Linked DNA regions of Homo sapiens: region 2 is linked to region 1. The links are contacts of gene promoters, found by promoter capture Hi-C in human tissues and cell types (Jung and others, 2019). All regions are on one chromosome and are shown on one strand. The core of a region is centred on a gene start or on the middle of the fragment in contact, and the rest is flanking DNA. Distances in the headings are between cores, read along the strand shown. Region 1 holds the start of MLXIPL (MLX interacting protein like). Region 2 overlaps LIMK1 (LIM domain kinase 1).

Evidence for each region. Contacts are between HindIII fragments. The study calls those that stand out against the background at their distance.
Region 2: a fragment that was not itself captured here is called in contact with the fragment with the promoter of MLXIPL in region 1 in 1 of the 25 tissues and cell types used here (dorsolateral prefrontal cortex).

Annotation. Positions count from the first base shown.
Region 1 is chr7:73,622,317-73,628,539 of GRCh38, forward strand. MLXIPL (MLX interacting protein like) reads right to left here and starts at 2,206. Exons shown (of 17, transcript NM_032951.3): 1 at 1,884-2,206. The coding sequence starts at 2,176. The HindIII fragment of the contact is 21,137 bases long and covers 1-6,223 here.
Region 2 is chr7:74,117,101-74,123,323 of GRCh38, forward strand. LIMK1 (LIM domain kinase 1) reads left to right here. Exons shown (of 16, transcript NM_002314.4): 14 at 3,483-3,538; 15 at 3,792-3,949; 16 at 4,039-5,425. The coding sequence ends at 4,201. Among named protein-coding and RNA genes, the nearest start is that of LIMK1, 36 kb to the left of the region's middle. The HindIII fragment of the contact is 7,492 bases long and covers 1-6,223 here.

The sequences.
Region 1 (6,223 bases), core at 956-3,455:
CTCGTCTCTACTAAAAATACAAAAAATTAGCTGGAGGTGGTGGGCGCCTGTAATCCCAGCTACTCAGGAGGCTGAGGCAGGAGATTCTCTTGAACCCGGAAGGCAGAGGTTGCAGTGAGCTGAGATGGCACCACTGCACTCCAGCCTGGGCAACAAGAGCAAAACTCTGTCTCAAAAAAAAAAAAAAATTTTTTTTTTTTTGGTAGAGACAGGTTCTCAGTATGTTGCCCAGGCTGGTCTCCAACTCCTGGGCTCAAGCAATCCTTGGATGAGAACCTTGGCCTCCTAAAGTGCTGGGCTTACAGGCAGGAGCCACTGTGCCCAGCCAGAGATTTACTATTAATATTTGGGTATTTGGGAAGAAAACACAGTCCTCTCTACCCCAGCTATCTCTGACTGGGGTTACATCAGCCTTGAGTCAGCCTCTGGGTGGGGGGGCAATTTTGGGGGTGCGCTCTGTCCCTTACCTTGCCAGCTCCCCAGAACCTCTCCTCTTTGGTCACCCATCGTCAGGGTTGGAAGTGAGGCCCCCTCCCAAATAGAGTGATGTGTAGTATATAATGAGCAGCCAAAGTTGGGGTTGGGTGGGAAATGGGAGACCCTTAGGAGGAGGAGTGCCGGCATCCGGTGTACCAGGACCTTAGATGCCCTGTCCCAGGCAGTCGCGTGACATTTGGGGAGGGAGGGAGAAGGGACGGGAATTTGAACTTTCCACACGGGTCCGACGCCCTGGCCGATCGGGTTGCAACATGACCTGGGCCAGGGGCCAGAGCTTGTGGGCCAAGGTTACTCCGCCTCCAGCCAATGGGGTCGCAGCTGGGCGGCTGCGGTTGGGGGCAGGCAACACTCCCCTCACAGTCCCCACCCCAGCTCCTGCTCCCCCGCAGGGCGGCAGGTGCCGATCTGTAGCCAGCGGTTCTCAGAAGGGGAGGAGGCGCCGCGGAGGAAGAGGAATATTTGCACAGAGAAAAGATCAAGGCCGGCCGATCCCCCTTTCTCCCCTACGGGTTTTCGGTTGATAATTTATACTGGCCCCTCAACTCCGGGGAACTTTGCTCCAGGGCACTGGGCCAGGCCTCGGGTTCGCGCCCTCCTCTGGGACGCGGGGCGTGGAGCGGCAGCGGGGCGCGGCCTGTGCGCTCTCGGTGGCACTAAGCGGGGGTCCCAGGCAGCGACGGGCGCTCAGCCTAGTGTGGCGACGTGGGTAGGCGAACCCAGGCCTCCCGGGCACCGGCGTAACCTCTGCGAGCTGCGCCTCTTGGACATTTCTGGGACATCCTCCTCCCGCCACCCTTAATGTAGCAGATCAAGAAGAGGTGTCTCAGCAATTGCGGGGAGGTGGACGTGAGAGTGGGCCAGTTCCAGTCCACTTTGGTTATGAACTGGGACAATCAGGGGCGCTGGGAGTATCTCAGGGTCCAGGAATAGGGCGGGCTTGGGCCGGGGCTGCTGGGGAGAAGGCCGAGGCCTGCAGGGGGTCGGGTGGAGTGGCTCCAGAGTGGAGAGTGGGGATGGGCGCGGGTGGCCTAGGGACCAGGGGCGCCTGGCATTTTTGTAGGGACGGAGGGGCTGGGACCAGAGAGAGGGGACCAGAGGTCCAGGTAGAGGTGGGGCGCAGGCGGTCTGCGCTTCGGGGAAGAGGGAATGGGGGAGGAATGGGAATCAGAAATGCGTGGGTCCGTCAGGGGCCAGCGGGCTGGGCCGCTGTAGGAGGACCTCGGGGCTGGGAGAAAGGGGGTGTCCAGGGCGTGATCGGAGCCTCCGGGAGCCGCAGGACCGGGCTCGGGTGGGGTGTTGAGGGCCCCAGCGCGCAGTCCTGCCCCGGACCCCCCCCCCATCCCCACCTGGAAGCCAAGGCCGTCAGGGCCCGGAACCGCCCTCACCTGTAGGCCAGGCTCAAGCACTCGAAGAGGCGTGTGAGTGTGGGGTCGATACTGCGCGGCCCGAAGTCGGAGGGCCCCACGGACCCCTCCTGGTCGCGCCGCCGGGGCAGCGAGTCGCTGTGCGGCGACGACACCATGAAGTGACCGCTGTGGATGACCTGCGAGCGGAGCAAGCCGCCCGCGCTGCGCCGGAGACTCGGGTCCTCCGAGTCTGTGTCCGAGTCCGAGTCTGGGCTGGGCGCGACCCGCGGGACCTGCAAGCCCGCGGCCAGACCTGCCAGCGCGCCGGCCATGGCTGTCGCCGCCGCAACCGCCTGGTCCCTGCTCCGCGCAGCGCGGGGAACAGCTCTTGGCCAGCCGGGCCTCATTAACATAGCCCCGCCCCCACACCATAGGCCGATCGGGTGGGCGGGGCCTGGGACGGGGCGGGGCTTGTATTAGCATAATCCTTACGCCAGGTGAGAACCCGGTGCTCTGGAGCTCTGGCGGGTTGGCCCCATCTCCCTTCCCGTCTTTCCTTGGAGTCCTGATAGAGCCGCCCCTACTTTGCTCCAAAGGGATATTAAGAAAGGTCAGGCCGGACGCCAGGGGCTCTTGCCTGTAATCCTAGCACTTTAGGAGGCCAAGGCGGGAGGATGGCTTGAGGTCAGGAGTTCGAGACCAGCCTGAGCAATATGGCAAGACCCCCATCTCTACCAAAAAAATGCAAAAATTAGCCGGACATAGTGGAGAAAGCCTGTAATACCAGCTACTGGGGAGGCTGAGGTGGGAGGATTCCTTGAGCCCAGGAGTTCGACAATATGGCAAAACCCTGTCTCTACCAAACATACAAAAATTATCCAGGCATGGTGGCGTGTGCATGTAGTCCTAGCTACTCCGAAGGCTGAAGTGGGAGAATCGCTTGAGACCAAGAGGTTGAGGCTGCAGTGAGCGGAGATCGCGCCACTGCACTCCAGCCTGGATGACAGAGTGAGACCCTGTCTCCACAACAAAAGGGTCCCCTATCACACCTGAGCCTGAAAGCGCCTCAGGACCTGGGGTTTGTTCTTTCAGGGGCACCCTCCTGTGAGGCCAGAGATCACCATCTCCCCTCACCTAACTCCTGCCCTTCACCTCCAACCCCCGCCCCCCATATTAGCTCTTCTGGGTCCTCCACATAGGTAGAAGCCCCCAACTCTCAGGGGCCTGATGTGGTAAGCCCAAGGTAATGCCCCTGAAGGGCCTGGCCCACAGGAGGTTGCTAACACCTCTAGTTAACATGGTGGCCAACACGGTGGCCGGGCGCGGTGGCTCTCGCCTTCAATCCTAGCACTTTGGGAGGCCATGGTGGGTGGGTCACTTGAGGCCAGGAGTTCGAAACCAGCCTGGCTAACATGGAGAAACCCCTTCTCTACTAAAAATACAAAAATTACCGGATGTGACGATGCGTGCTTGGCTTATAATCCCAGCTACTCGGGAGGCTGAGGTGGAAGAATCACATGAGCCCAAGAGGTGGAGGTTGCAGTGAGCCGAGATCGCGCCCTACTGCACTCCACCCTGGGCAACAGTGAAATCCTGTTTCAAAAACAAAATAAAATACTTAAGAAAAAATATATATTAAAAAAATTGTGATCATTACTTCACCTGCACAGAGAGGCCCAAGGGGAGCCTCGAGGGACTGTTACTGGTAGGGATGGGTGGCTCACTGGAAGGTGGACATCCCCTAGGCAGGCATCTACCCAGGAGCTCTGAGCCCCTTCTCTCACTGACACTGAGGTCCAGCTTTTGTTCCTGCTTCTTTGTATTTTTATTTATCTATATACTTCTATTTATTTATTGTTTTGAGACGGAGGCTCACTCTGTCACCCAGGCTGGAGTGCAATGGCACGATCTCGGCTCACTGCAACCTCTGCCTCCCTGGTTCAAGCGATTCTCCTGCCTTAGCCTCCTGAGTAGCCGGGATTACAAGTGCCCGCCACCATGCCCAGCTAATTTTTGTATTTTTAGTAGAGACGAGGTTTCTCCATGCTGGCCAGGCTGGTCTCAAACTCCTGACCTTAAAGCGATTTGCCCACCTCAGCCTCTCAAAGTGCTGGGATTCCAGGCATGCGCCACCGTGCCCAGCCTATTTATATATTTTTAGAGACAGGGTCTCGCTCTGTCACCCAGGCTGGAGTGCAGAGGCACGGTCATAGCTCACTGCAGCCTCAAACTCCTGGGCCAAAGCGATCCTCCCACCTCAGCCTCCCTAGTAGCTGGGACTACAGGCTCATGCCACCAAACCTGGCTAATTTTTTTTTTTTTGTAGAGATGAAATCTGCTTCAGCCTCCCAAAGTTTTGGGATTACAAGTGTGAGCCACTGTACATGGCCTTTCTGCTTCTGAAGCCTCTTTTCTCACCTTGAGGACAGAAACCAGACTGAGGCATTCACACCTGACACCTCACTGGAGCGTTTAACTAACAGCCTCAAAGATGGGTTCAGAGGCACAGGAGAGCAAAAACACACCCAAGCATCTCTGAGGGGCAGCAGCAAAGCCTGGTCTAGTAGATTTCCAGATTTCCCCCAAGGATGTCCCTAGTGGGTGGGGACAGGAAAGAGTTGTAGGCACATGCTAAGCTCTGCTGGCTTTCTGACAGGTATCCTGTGTGTGGTCATGTTAGGGAAAGCGGAGGAGGTGGTTTCCCATGTGTGGCAGCCTTGGAAAAGGTTGACATGCAGCACTTTCTTCCAGCCCACAGGAGGATCACACAGCACCTAGGATCACAATGGCAGTGCCCTGAGGGCCCCAGCCACTGGCTGTGGGAGGAAAGTGATTATCCAAGGCTGCTCACAGGCCAGCCCTTCCACCCACCTCCCTTGGCCGGGTATCTTCTGTCTCTGCCAAATGTTCGCATCACATTCCCAGGAGCCCCAGCTGTTCTGCTCCATCCTCCCTGCTGCCCTCTGTAGGATGTGCATTCTCTCTGCCCATCCCTGCCAGGTTAGGAAAGGGGGTTCTGATGCTCACCCCACTCTCCCTCCTTTGGAGGGGCTCTGCCCTGCTTCAGAGAGCCATCCCCAAGTGGCCCTCTTTTTTTTTTTTTTTTTTGAGCCAGTCTCAGTCTGTCACCCAGACTGGAGTGCAGTGGCATGATCTCAGCTCACTGCAACCTCCGCCTCCCGGGCTCAAGCGATTCTCCTGCCTCAGCCTCCCAAGTAGCCGGGATTACAGGCGTGTAACACCATGCCCGACTAATTTTTGTATTTTTAGTAGAGATGGGGTTTCACCATGTTGGCCAGGCTGGTCTTGAACTCCTGACCACAAGTGATCCACCTGCCTCAGCCTCCCAAAGTGCTGGTATTACAGGCGTGAGCCACCGTGGCCAGCTCTCAGGTGGCAGTTAACCGTCTTTTGAGGCCCTTGGTACAGAGGCTGACAGGATCATTACTTACCCCTATATGCCTGTCTGGCTTCTCCCCCTATTCCTCCGTAGGCCATTGAGGCAAGACTGTGTCCTAGCATCTCTGAACCCCCACACTGGGTACCTGGAGACTTGGGGGATGCTTGAAGAAAGGGGCATGAGACTAAGAGGAGCGGGTGGGGTGCTGTGGAGGAGGTTGGATAGGAAGTGTCAGCTCCGCCCTCGCCTCTGGCTTGGGACCTCCTGGCTCCGGGGACCCTGGCTCAGGTGAAGACCGGAATTGATCCTTGCTCTGCTGCTAATTCCATGAGTAACACTGGGGAGATCTCTGTCTCTCTGTCTTACTGGCGATCTGTCTCACTACCTGTAAAATTGAGGGCCAAACTCAGTGCTTTCTTTCTTTCTTCTTCTTTTTGCTGTTGTAAAGATGAGGTCTCACTATATTCCCCAGGCTGGTCTCGAGCACCTGGGCTCAAGCGACCCTTCCACCACGGCCTCCCAAAGTGCTGAGACTACGGGCATGAGCCACTGTGCCTGGCCTGAATTCAGTGATTTGTTGGGGATCCAGGAATCTTGGCTCCAAGTCTCTGCTGGCCGTGTCTCCAGATCACCCCACCGTGCTCTCCCCATGCTCTGAAAACATCAGAGTTGTCTCCTGCGGTTTCAGGGACTTTCCTCTGAGCTGGATCTGAGCGGGTGGGAAGATTATGAGTGAATTCTCTCCTTCACCCAACATCCCTCCTTCCCCAGCCATGAATTGCCCCTCAACAGGCATCTGCATCTCATTTCTGCCCTCCTCCAGGGCTTAATAACACCTCTAGAAGCCTAACCGCTGAAAAGACAAACCCTGACTGCACAATGCAAAACATCCAAACACTAGAGTGTCCAATAAATGCAAGGACGTCCACAGATTCTGATTTCTCCTGTGTTTAGAGACAGGGTCTCGCTGTGTCACCCA
Region 2 (6,223 bases), core at 2,469-4,968, 500 kb after region 1:
TCGATCTCCTGACCTCGTGATCCGCCCGTCTCGGCCTCCCAAAGTGCTGGGATTACAGGCGTGAGCCACCGCGCCTGGCCAATTTTTTAAATTTTTAATAGAGACGGGGGTATCACTATGTTGCCCAGGCTGGTCTCAAACTCCTGGCTTCAGGCGATCCTCCTGCCTTGACCTTTCAAAGTGCTGGGATTCCAGGCATGAGCCACCATGGCCCTCCATCCTTCTGATAGGGACCCTTACGGTGACATTGGGCCCACCTGGATAATCCAAAAGCAGCCCTCCATCTCAAGACCCTCAACTTAATCCCATCTGCAGAGTCCGATGGAAGGTGGGACGTATACAAGTCCCAGGGATCAGGACGCAGTCATCTTTGGGGATCATAGTTCTGCCTCCCACAGGGTCTGCTTCCCTCAGTCCATTTCTTTGCTGTCAATGGTCCTATATATGCCCAGATTATAGGTTATAAAGTCCTTCTACAAGCAGGTGACACATGAACACAGGTTCAGGGCAGGCAGACCCCAGCCATCACCTCATCATAGTTAACCTAGTTAAATTAGCCTGGCATGTGGCGTGGTGCCTAATGCCTGTGGTCCCAGCTACTCAGGAAGCCAAAGCGGGAGATTTACTTGAGCCAAGGAGATCAAGGCTGCAGTGAGCTATGATCATACCACTGCCTTCTAGCCTGGGCAACGGAGTGAGACCCTGTCTCAAGAAAACAAAAAATAGGCCAGGCACAGTGGCTCACACCTGTAATTCCAGCACTTTGGGAGGCTGAAGCAGGCGGATTGCTTGAGGCCAGGAGTTCGAGACCAGCCTGGCCAACATGGTGAAACGCTGTCTCTACTGAAAATACAAAAATTACCCGGGTGTGGTGGCACAGCTACTAGGGAGGCTGAGGCAGGAGAATCACTTGAACCCAGGAGCAGAGGTTACATTGGGCCAAGATTGCACCACTGCACTCCAGCCTGGGCAACAGAGGAAGACTGTGTCTCAAAAAGAAAAAAAAAAAAACCTTCCTGTAATCCCAGCACTTTGGGAGGCTGAGGTGGGCGGATCACGAGGTCAAGAGATTGAGACCATCCTGGTCAACATGATGAAACCCCATCTCTACTAAAAATACAAAAAAATTAGCTGGGCGTGGTTGCACGCGTCTGTAGTCCCAGCTACCCGGGAGGCTGAGGCAGGAGAATGATGTGAACCCAGGAGGCGGAGCTTGCAGTGAGCCGAGATCGCACCACTGTACTCCAGCCTGACGACAGAGTGGGACTCTGTGTCAAACACACACACACACACACACACACACACACACACACACACACACACACAGAGTTAACATAGCCCGCAAAGAAGACTATAAAACAGTCTTAGTGGCCGGGCGCAGTGGTTCACGCTTGTAATCCCAGCACTTTGGGAGGCCGAGGCAGGTGGATCATGAGGTCAGGAGTTTGAGACCAGCCTGGCCAACACAGTGAAACCCCATCTCTACTAAAAATACAAAAATTAGCTGGACATGGTTTCGGGCGCCCGTAATCCCAGCTACTCAGGAGGCTGAGGCAGGAGAGTTGCTTGAACCCAGGAGGCAGAGGCAGGAGAGTTGCTTGAACCCAGGAGGCAGAGGTTGCAGTGGGCGACAGAGCAAGACTCTGTCTCAAAAAACAAAAAAGTCTTAGTGTTTCCTATGTTTAGGGATTAGTGTGAGGATTAAAGGTTGTAAACTCATTTCCACCTAGTTGGCATTCAGTAAATGAGAATTGACATTTAGTACTAATTGTTTCGGGTATTTTGTTTTTTGTTTTTTGTTTTTTGTTTTTTCTGAGACCGAGTCTTGCTCTGTCATCCAGGCTAGAATGCATGGTGCGATCTCGGCTCACTGCAAGCTCCGCCTCCCGGGTTCACACCATTCTCCTGCCTCAGCCTCCCACGTAGCTGGGACTACAGGCGCCCGCCACCACGCCTGGCTAATTTTTTGTATTTTTAGTAGAGACGGGGTTTCACCATGATCTCGATCTCCTGACCTCGTGATCCACCCGCCTCAGCCTCCCAAAGTGCTGGGATTACAGGTGTGAGCCACCGTGCCCGGCCAGTTTTTTGTTTTTGAGATGGAGTCTTGCATTGTCACCCAGGCTGGAGTACAGTGGCGTGATCTCGGCTCACTGCAACCTCCACCTCCTGGGTTCAAGTGATTCTCCTGCCTCAGTTTCCCTAGTAGCTGGGATTACAGGCACCTGCCACCATGCCTGGCTAATTTTTCTATTTTTAGTAGAGATGGGGTTTCACCATGTTGGCCAGGCTGATCTTGAACTCCTGACCTCAGGTGATCCACCCGCCTCGGCCTCCCAAAGTGCTGGGATTACAGGTGTGAACCACTGTGCCCGGCCATGTACCGATTATTTTTAACATCATTAAGTAGCTGGTATCATTCCCATTTTACAATAAGGAAACTGAGGCTCAGAGAGTCTGTGTCAGTTTCCTGAGGTTGCTGTAATAAATTGTTAGAAACTTGATTATTTAAAACAGCAGAAAATGGTCAGGCACAGTGGCTCACACCTGTAATCCCAGCACTTTGGGAGGCCGAGGCGGGCAGATCACTGGAGGTCAGGAGTTCGAGACCAGCCTGGCCAACATGGTGAAACACCATCTCTACTAAAAGTACAAAAATTAGCTGGGCATGGTGGCAGGCGCCTGTAATCCCAGCTACTCGGGAAATTGAGGCAGGAGAATCGCTTGAACCCAGGAGGCAGAGGTTGCAGTGAGCCACAATCGTACCACTGCACTCTTGCCTGGACAACAAAGCAAGACTCCATCTCAAGATAAAATAAACAGCAGAAATTTATTCCCTCTTAGTTTTGGAAGCCAGAAGGTTGAAATCCAACAGGGCTGCGCTCCCTCCAGGGCGATCTAGGGGAGAATGCATTCCTTGCCTCTTCCACCTTCTGGTTGTTTTGCATTCCTGGGCTTGTGGCCGCATCACTCCAGTCTCCACCCCTGTCTTCACAGGGCCACCTCCTCCTCTTCTGCTGTGTCTTCTCTGTGTCTCTCTCAAGAGGGCATTTGCAGTGGCATTTGGGGCCCACCCAGATCATCCAGCATCATCTCATCTCCAGATCCTTAACTTAATCCCATCTGCAAAAGACCCTTTTTCTGACCCAGTAACATTCACAGATTCCAGAGACCTGACATGGTTCCCTTTTGGGACCAGCACAGAGTTCATGACTTGTGCAAAGTCACGCAGCTGATCGGTGCCTCGAACTCCTTGTCCAGGGCTCTGCCCCTTGCTCCTCAGAGCTCCCAAAGGCTTGCTCAGACCTGGTGGGGTTGGGGGAAAGAGCCTAAGCCTGGGTTCCCATAGAGGTTGCCGGCATCTGCCTCCTGGGCCTGGACCTCCCGGCCGGGGCATCCTCCCAGCTGGCCTGGTCCCCTGCCTTTTGGCATCCCTGGCACCCCCATGTGTTCATCTGCTGACAGTCGGTCTCTTTATCCAGGCCGCAGCTATGATGAGAAGGTGGATGTGTTCTCCTTTGGGATCGTCCTGTGCGAGGTAGGTCCAGGGTTGGGTAGCAGCGGTGTTGAGGCCTGGGCTCCTCCCCACTCACCCAGGCTGCAGGCTCAGCATCTGCAGGGGCCTCATGCCAGGAAGCCTGCCCACAGCAAGGCATGGGCTGGCCCCCATGGGGTACTGCAGTCAGGCTGCAGCCAGGCCCAGTGCCACCTGCCCTCAAACCACCTGGATGGCACCCAGATGCCCAGGCTGAGGGCCCCCTGGAGTAACTGCCGGGCCTTGTACTGGACAGATCATCGGGCGGGTGAACGCAGACCCTGACTACCTGCCCCGCACCATGGACTTTGGCCTCAACGTGCGAGGATTCCTGGACCGCTACTGCCCCCCAAACTGCCCCCCGAGCTTCTTCCCCATCACCGTGCGCTGTTGCGATCTGGACCCCGAGAAGAGGTGAGTGGGGTGGGGCCCTGGCCTGGGAGACGGTGGGGCCGATTCCCGGGACAGCCAGACCCACCGTTCCCCACCCACCTGTCACCCAGGCCATCCTTTGTGAAGCTGGAACACTGGCTGGAGACCCTCCGCATGCACCTGGCCGGCCACCTGCCACTGGGCCCACAGCTGGAGCAGCTGGACAGAGGTTTCTGGGAGACCTACCGGCGCGGCGAGAGCGGACTGCCTGCCCACCCTGAGGTCCCCGACTGAGCCAGGGCCACTCAGCTGCCCCTGTCCCCACCTCTGGAGAATCCACCCCCACCAGATTCCTCCGCGGGAGGTGGCCCTCAGCTGGGACAGTGGGGACCCAGGCTTCTCCTCAGAGCCAGGCCCTGACTTGCCTTCTCCCACCCCGTGGACCGCTTCCCCTGCCTTCTCTCTGCCGTGGCCCAGAGCCGGCCCAGCTGCACACACACACCATGCTCTCGCCCTGCTGTAACCTCTGTCTTGGCAGGGCTGTCCCCTCTTGCTTCTCCTTGCATGAGCTGGAGGGCCTGTGTGAGTTACGCCCCTTTCCACACGCCGCTGCCCCAGCAACCCTGTTCACGCTCCACCTGTCTGGTCCATAGCTCCCTGGAGGCTGGGCCAGGAGGCAGCCTCCGAACCATGCCCCATATAACGCTTGGGTGCGTGGGAGGGCGCACATCAGGGCAGAGGCCAAGTTCCAGGTGTCTGTGTTCCCAGGAACCAAATGGGGAGTCTGGGGCCCGTTTTCCCCCCAGGGGGTGTCTAGGTAGCAACAGGTATCGAGGACTCTCCAAACCCCCAAAGCAGAGAGAGGGCTGATCCCATGGGGCGGAGGTCCCCAGTGGCTGAGCAAACAGCCCCTTCTCTCGCTTTGGGTCTTTTTTTTGTTTCTTTCTTAAAGCCACTTTAGTGAGAAGCAGGTACCAAGCCTCAGGGTGAAGGGGGTCCCTTGAGGGAGCGTGGAGCTGCGGTGCCCTGGCCGGCGATGGGGAGGAGCCGGCTCCGGCAGTGAGAGGATAGGCACAGTGGACCGGGCAGGTGTCCACCAGCAGCTCAGCCCCTGCAGTCATCTCAGAGCCCCTTCCCGGGCCTCTCCCCCAAGGCTCCCTGCCCCTCCTCATGCCCCTCTGTCCTCTGCGTTTTTTCTGTGTAATCTATTTTTTAAGAAGAGTTTGTATTATTTTTTCATACGGCTGCAGCAGCAGCTGCCAGGGGCTTGGGATTTTATTTTTGTGGCGGGCGGGGGTGGGAGGGCCATTTTGTCACTTTGCCTCAGTTGAGCATCTAGGAAGTATTAAAACTGTGAAGCTTTCTCAGTGCACTTTGAACCTGGAAAACAATCCCAACAGGCCCGTGGGACCATGACTTAGGGAGGTGGGACCCACCCACCCCCATCCAGGAACCGTGACGTCCAAGGAACCAAACCCAGACGCAGAACAATAAAATAAATTCCGTACTCCCCACCCAGGTCCTGCGTGGCGATGTGTGTCTGGGGCCCTGGGGAAATAGTCAAGGTAAGAGGAGTTAGTCTTCCCTGACCAGAAGACAAGGATGAGTGTGGTGGCTCATGCCTGTGATCCCAGCACTCTGGGAGGCTGAGACAGGACGATCCCTTAAGCCCAGGAGTTCAAGACCAGTCTGGACAACATAGTGAGATCCTGTCTCTACAAAAATTTTTTTTTAATTAGTTGGGCAGAGGCCAGGTGTGGTGGCTCATGCCTGTAATCCCAGCACTTTGGGAGGCAGAGGCGGGTGGATCACCTGAAGTTAGGAGTTCAAGACCAGTCTGGCCAACATGGTGAAAACTCGTCTCTACTAAAAATACAAAAATTAGCCGGGCGTGGTGGCACATGCCTGTAGTCCTAGCTACTTGGGAGACTGAGGCAGGAGAATCGCTTGAACCCGAAAGGCAGAGGTTGCAGTGAGCCGAGGTGGTGCCATTCCACTCCAGCCTGGGAAAGAGCGAGACTTTGTCTCCAAAAAAAAAAAAAAAAAAAATTGGCAGGCCAGGCACAGTGGCTCACACCTGTAATCCCAGCCCTCTGGGAGGCCGAGGCAGGAGGATCTCCTGAGGTCAGGAGTTTGAGAACAGCCTGACTGACATAGTGAAACCCCATCTCTACTAACAATACAAAATTAGCCAGGTGTGATGGCACATGCCTGAAATCCCAGCTACTTGGGGGGTTGAGGCAGGAGAATTGCTTGAACCCAGGAGGCAGAGGTTGCAGTGAGCCGAGATTGCACCATTGCACCCCAGCCTGGGCA